Regions from separate parts of the Homo sapiens genome. Here region 2 is linked to region 1. Evidence: promoter capture Hi-C in human tissues and cell types (Jung and others, 2019). All regions are on one chromosome and are shown on one strand. Each heading gives the region's core, a stretch centred on a gene start or on the middle of the fragment in contact. The rest is flanking DNA. Distances are from core to core; before and after follow the strand shown. Region 1 holds the start of CARD10 (caspase recruitment domain family member 10). Region 2 overlaps TMPRSS6 (transmembrane serine protease 6).

Region 1 (2,700 bases), core at 139-2,638:
TCGGGGTAGTAGAACTCCAGGGCTTCCAGGAAGGCCTCATAGCCCCTCTTGCCACGGCAGCGCAAGATGTCCATCAGGCGCCCTACAGAGTAGTGGGGGGATGTACCCAGGGTCTAGGGGAAGGCCTCCCCAGGTGCCTGGTTGCTTCTGCCCCCACCATGCTCCAGGCCCACGTTCCCCAGATTTTTGAGCCAGTGACACACACAGGGGCCTGTCCCAACACATCAGGGAAGAGAAGAGAGCCATTCTGCCACAGCCAGGGGAGCACATTCCCTCATGACTCCTGGGCTCCCAGAGCTCCCCAACACCCCCCACAGACACAGATGCCGGCCCGCAAATGCAGCCTGCCTTTTCAATGGCACAGAGAAGCCCCCTCTATCCCCAGAAGCAAAGAAAATACTTCTCCCATTGGCCATGCCTGAAATTCCACCATTAAAGACCATTCCATCATGCCTTTTTGAGTTCTGGTTCAAAGGCACACCCTGTGGGAGTGGGGACCCACGTAAAGCTGAGACGGATCTTGACACTTGAAAAAGGACTCCCCCAGGAGTGTATGGTGCACAGAGGAGGGGACAGACAGAACTCGGAGATCAAAGAGCGCAGGAAAGGTGCCAAGTCCACCGGCTGTGACCGGGAGGTCCCAGGCCCAGCCGGCCCTGGCAGCCACATCCAACCTTCTGCTCTAATGTGGACCCAGGAAGTGGGAGAGAACCCCAAGAGACAAAACTCTGACCCCGGTGTGGGCAACGCGGACCGCCAAGGCGCAGTGGTGGGTGGGGAGGAGGCAGGCTGGTGGGCATACCCAGCCGGCCCACTCTACTGATGCGGAGACCGAGCCCCAGGGCAGCAGAGCCCTAGCTTCGCGCTACACGGCTGTGGGCGCTGCGCCCCAGGGCACGGCCGGCCCAGGTCGTGGCCCACTCGGGACCCGCGGCTCACCGGTGCGGTTGACGCGGCACGGGAAGCGGTAGGTGCTCAGCACCTCCTCCTCGTCCTGCTCGTCGATGACCCGGCACTGGCGCAGATACGGCGTGAGCTTGGCCGGGTTCAGGGCGCGAGCCAGCCGATGCCGGACGCCCTCGATTCGCTCCCACAGCGCGTCCTCCTCCGCCTCAGACCCCGAGCCGGCCCCGGCCTCCTCCTCGGCCTCCCCCGCCTCCGCCCGGCCCGGCATGGCCGTGTCCTCAGGGTCTGCGGGCAAGAGGCGCACGGGGGTCGACCAGGGCTCCCTAGGGCTAGATGTGCGGCCAAGCACCCCCGGGGCGTCGTCCGCAGACCCGCCGTCGGGGGCGCGCCCCGAGCTCCCCGCGACTCACCCCGCACGCTACAGTCGCCTCGGGCTCCCGGGTCCGCACTCGGGCGGCGGCTCCGCCGGCGCAGGGGGGCGGTGCCCGTGGCGCCCCCGGCTCCGCCCCCGTCCCCGCAGCCTCCTGGGCTGCCCGGGCCTCCCCACATTGCCGCCCGCCCCGGGTCGTGCGTCCGGCCCCCGGCCACCCCGCGCGTCCGTCTGCACGCCCTCCCTCCCGGCCGTCCGGCTGCGCCTCCCCCTGCTTCCTGTTTCCCGCCGGCTCTCCAGCCCGGCTCGGCGGGGTCCTGGCCGCCCGCCCACACCTGCCCGGCCTCTGGGCGGGGCGGGGGCGGGCAGGCGCGCTCACACCCCCCGCGCGCCGCGACACACCTTCCCCGGGCCACGCGCATCGCCTCCCCACGCCCACAGCGCGCCCGCCCGTGCGGGGCTAGCCGCTCACGCCCGGCGCAGCCCGCGGGCACTCAAGCTGGGCTTGCCCTTCTCGGGTCCCCACATGCACTGCGGGCGCGGGAGCTTCCCTGGAGCGCAGGACAGCCCCGCGGGGGACAGCAATGGGCAGAGGTCATGGGGGCTTTCTGCAAGATGGGGGTCTGAACCTGCAGGGCAGCACTGCCAACTCCCCTCTTACGCAAACTCCCGTGGCACTTGAGGACCAGGGACCCCACAATTCTCAAAGGGTATTCCTCCAGGTGTTGGTCCCAGAGATGCTGGGGGCGGGCTGTGACTAGCCATCCATACTCCCGCTCCTGCCTGGGAGGCCGGTGGTGTCTTACCATGATACTGGCCGAGTCTACACGGTATCTGCTGGTGCATGCGATACAGTCTCGCTATGCATTAGAAGCTGCCAGGTACCTGCTGCCAGGGAGGAACAGAGGAGGCACAACCGGTACAGGAAAGAGGTGTGAGCTCCCTAATCGCCTTCCACAACTTCTGAATTAGATGCCGTGGACATATGTATTACTTATCCAAAGAATTAAGGTTTCAATCAATAAAGGCTCTGAAAAGCCCTGCTTAAATTAAGGCCGGGGGCGGTGGCTCATGCCTGGAATCCCGACACTTTGGGAGACCGAGGCGAGTGGATCACCTGAGGTCAGGAGTTCGAGACCAGCCTGACCAATATGGCGAAACCCCATCTCTACTAAAAATATAAAAATTAGCTAGACGTGGTAGTGCGCGTCTGTAATCCCAGCTACTCGGGAGGCTGAGGCACGAGAATCGCTTGAACCCAGGAGGCGGAGGTTGCAGTGATATCGTGCCACTGCACTCCAGCAGCCCGGGCAACAGAATGAGACTCCCCCTCAAAAAAAAAAAAAAAAAAAAAAAAAGCCCCAGCAGTAAAGAAACAGATTTAACTTTATATATCCTGGTGTCCTTTTCCAAACTTAATTAAC
Region 2 (2,700 bases), core at 111-2,610, 440 kb before region 1:
CCAGGGAGAGTCCTAGAACCAGTCTGTAGCTGGCAGCAACCTTTCCCCAGGGCCTCACCGTGTACCCGGGAACCTGTCTGTCTGGGCAGTGTTTGGTTCTCACTCTGGAGGCCTGGAGCACGGGTAGAGGTGGTGGAATCCCTGGAACAAGCGTCTGCTTAGAAAGCGCCAGAGAGGAATTCAAGGCAGCGGCTGAAATCTAGTGGCCCAAGCGGAGTCACTCAGCGTAAAGACAATCTGTTTATGCACCATGTAGAAATTGCTTCATTGAGTCGCGAGCTAATTTCACATAATAATCCAGATTCCTGCTCCTTTAGAAGGAGAAGAGGAAGAGGAAGAGGAAGAGGAAGGAGGAGGCGGAGGAGAAGAAGAAGAAAAGATGAAGAGGAAGAAAGGAGAAAGAGAATGAGGAGAAGGAGGAGGAGAAGAAGAAGGAGGAGGAGGAAGAGGAGAAGGAGAAGAAGAAGAAAGAGGAGGAGGAGAAGGAAGAGAAGGAGAAGAAGGAGAAGAGGAAGGGAGAAGAAGGGAAAAGGAGAATAAGGAAGAAGAAAGAAGAAAGAGAAAGAAGAGGAAGAAGGAGAAGGAGAAGGAGAAAAAGAGAAAGAAAGAAAGAAAAAGAAAGAAAGAAAGAAAGAAAGAAAGAAAGAAAGAAAGAAAGAGAAAGAGAGAAAGAAAGAAAAGCCCCGAAAACACCACTGGACTACCCTACCCCCCATCATAGACTCTAGCCCTGGCCTGGCCCCTTGGCCCATCTGAGTTTTCTGTTTCTGCTGCAGAACTCTCTGGGGGAGGGTGCACATTCTCTGGCTCTCCAGTGCCTCCCGTCCAACAAGTGCTCCCCTCTAGCCCTCTCCAAGAAGCACCAGAAGCCTGACTGCTGCGATGCCTGCCAGTTCATCTTGGCTACAAAGTACTGAGTGTCTGAAGGCACATTTTTGCACCGTGTGGCCTGCCTTGCTTCCTCACCTCTCTGGATATGGGGAATATTTCCTTCTTGCCTCATCCAGGAGGTAGACAGGGACCCTGTCAGGATGTACTGCCTGGAGGGATAGATGCATGGATGGATGGATGGATGGATGGAAGGGTGGGGAGAACACAAGAAGGAAGAAGGAAAGAAGGGTGCGTGGGTGGATGAATGCACACCCCCGTGCCCTTACCTACAGACAGATTAAAGGGGAAGGAGGGTCACAGAAGGCAAGTGCTGAAGAGGGGAGGAGAGCAGCACCTGGCATTGCCAGAGCTCTAGACCTGGGGCTGCAGAGCTGAATTGGCAGCCTGGCTTTGCCCCAGGAACAAGCTGTGTGACCTTGGGTCACCCTCAGCAAGCTTTAGTTTTCACATTTGTAAAACAGGGGTGATCGTATCTCCCTTGTGGCATGGTTTAAGGCATGCATAGGAAATGACTTCTTTGAAGCACTTGCTGACGTCAGGCTGTGAGCTCATGGAGGAAGCAGCTTGCACTCTCCTGCACGGCCAGCCCAGCTCAGGTCAGCCACACTGAAGTTCCTACTAAGTGTCTGTGGCTGCCGCCTGTGCTGGCCACTAGCGCTCCGGAGAACACAAGGGCCACCCCATAGCCAGGCCAGGCCGGGTCGGGGGTGGCTCCAGCTGGCCTAGGGAACCCATGGTTCTGCCTGTCCCCACTGGCTGGGAGTGAGTGGAAATGGTGGGGCGAATCACAAGAGAAGTGATGTCACAGGAGAGGAAGCTGGCAGGAGGCAGGTTCCCGGAAAGGGGGAAGCCCGTGCTTCGGTGGCAGCCCGTGAGAGTGGCTTCTGCGAAATGGAGCAGCCATGGCCAGATCTCACGGGCCAAGTCCCTCTACCACCCCCAGGCCACTCAAGGGCCTGAGGCCTCAGCTGGGCTCAAGTGGGCACCGGGAGAAGCTAGGTAGAAAGCAGGCAGGTCAGGGGTGAAGGAGGCACCACAGTCTCAGAGGAGTCAGGTGAAGTGCCTAAGGATGCTTAGTCCATGGGGGGCCCACCAGGCCAGCCTTTCCTCATCACTACGCTGGCACTTGAGGGTTAAGATACCCTCTCCCCTGACCCGCCCTCTCCATCAATGGGCATTCTGGGCCAAAGGGCTGTACCTCCCCCTCCCTAAAGTGCCTTGTCTGAAAATCTGCTCTTCCCTAGACCTCTCATGTCTTTGCCACCCACACAAGCAGATTTCCAACAAATGCTCATTCTAAGAATTTCTCAGCATCTACATGGGATGATCACTATCGCCCATGATCATAACTAGAGGGCACAGTGGCCCAGTGCGGATGGTTTGCAGGCGCCACCTCTGCCTTCCCTTCCACATTCATTCACACAGGAGGAGTCTGCGGGGAGGGGACAAGAGTCTGCCCCTGGGGACCCTGGACCCTTAATGAAAGTCTGAGAAGAAAGGGCTGGGACTTCCCAGGCCGCTCTGGAACTGGTGGGACAGCCACAGAAACTGTCGATCCCCCCACCCAGATGCCAGTGGGTTGGCTGGGGATGCCTTGGCTGAGGGAGTCACCAGCTGGCATGGGCCGCTAGAGGCTCAGAGGGAAGAATCGCACACGTGGACCACACACACATGCACGTACACGTGCACAGACATGCATGGATGTACGCACGCACACAGACATGCATCTGTGCACCCACGTGCACTCCAGATCAGGCTGCCTGGCCTTAACTCTGGCTCAAAGAGCTGGGTGACTTTGTGCAAATTACT

Evidence for each region. Contacts are between HindIII fragments. The study calls those that stand out against the background at their distance.
Region 2: a fragment that was not itself captured here is called in contact with the fragment with the promoter of CARD10 in region 1 in 1 of the 25 tissues and cell types used here (hippocampus).

The regions. Positions count from the first base shown.
Region 1 is chr22:37,518,027-37,520,726 of GRCh38, forward strand. It overlaps CARD10 (caspase recruitment domain family member 10), which reads right to left and starts at 1,389. Exons shown (of 20, transcript NM_014550.4): 1 at 940-1,389; 2 at 1-82. The coding sequence starts at 1,174. The HindIII fragment of the contact is 30,090 bases long and covers 1-2,700 here.
Region 2 is chr22:37,078,360-37,081,059 of GRCh38, forward strand. The region is part of intron 10 of TMPRSS6 (transmembrane serine protease 6); the gene reads right to left. Among named protein-coding and RNA genes, the nearest start is that of KCTD17, 28 kb to the left of the region's middle. RefSeq lists an enhancer at 2,022-2,700. The HindIII fragment of the contact is 8,225 bases long and covers 1-2,700 here.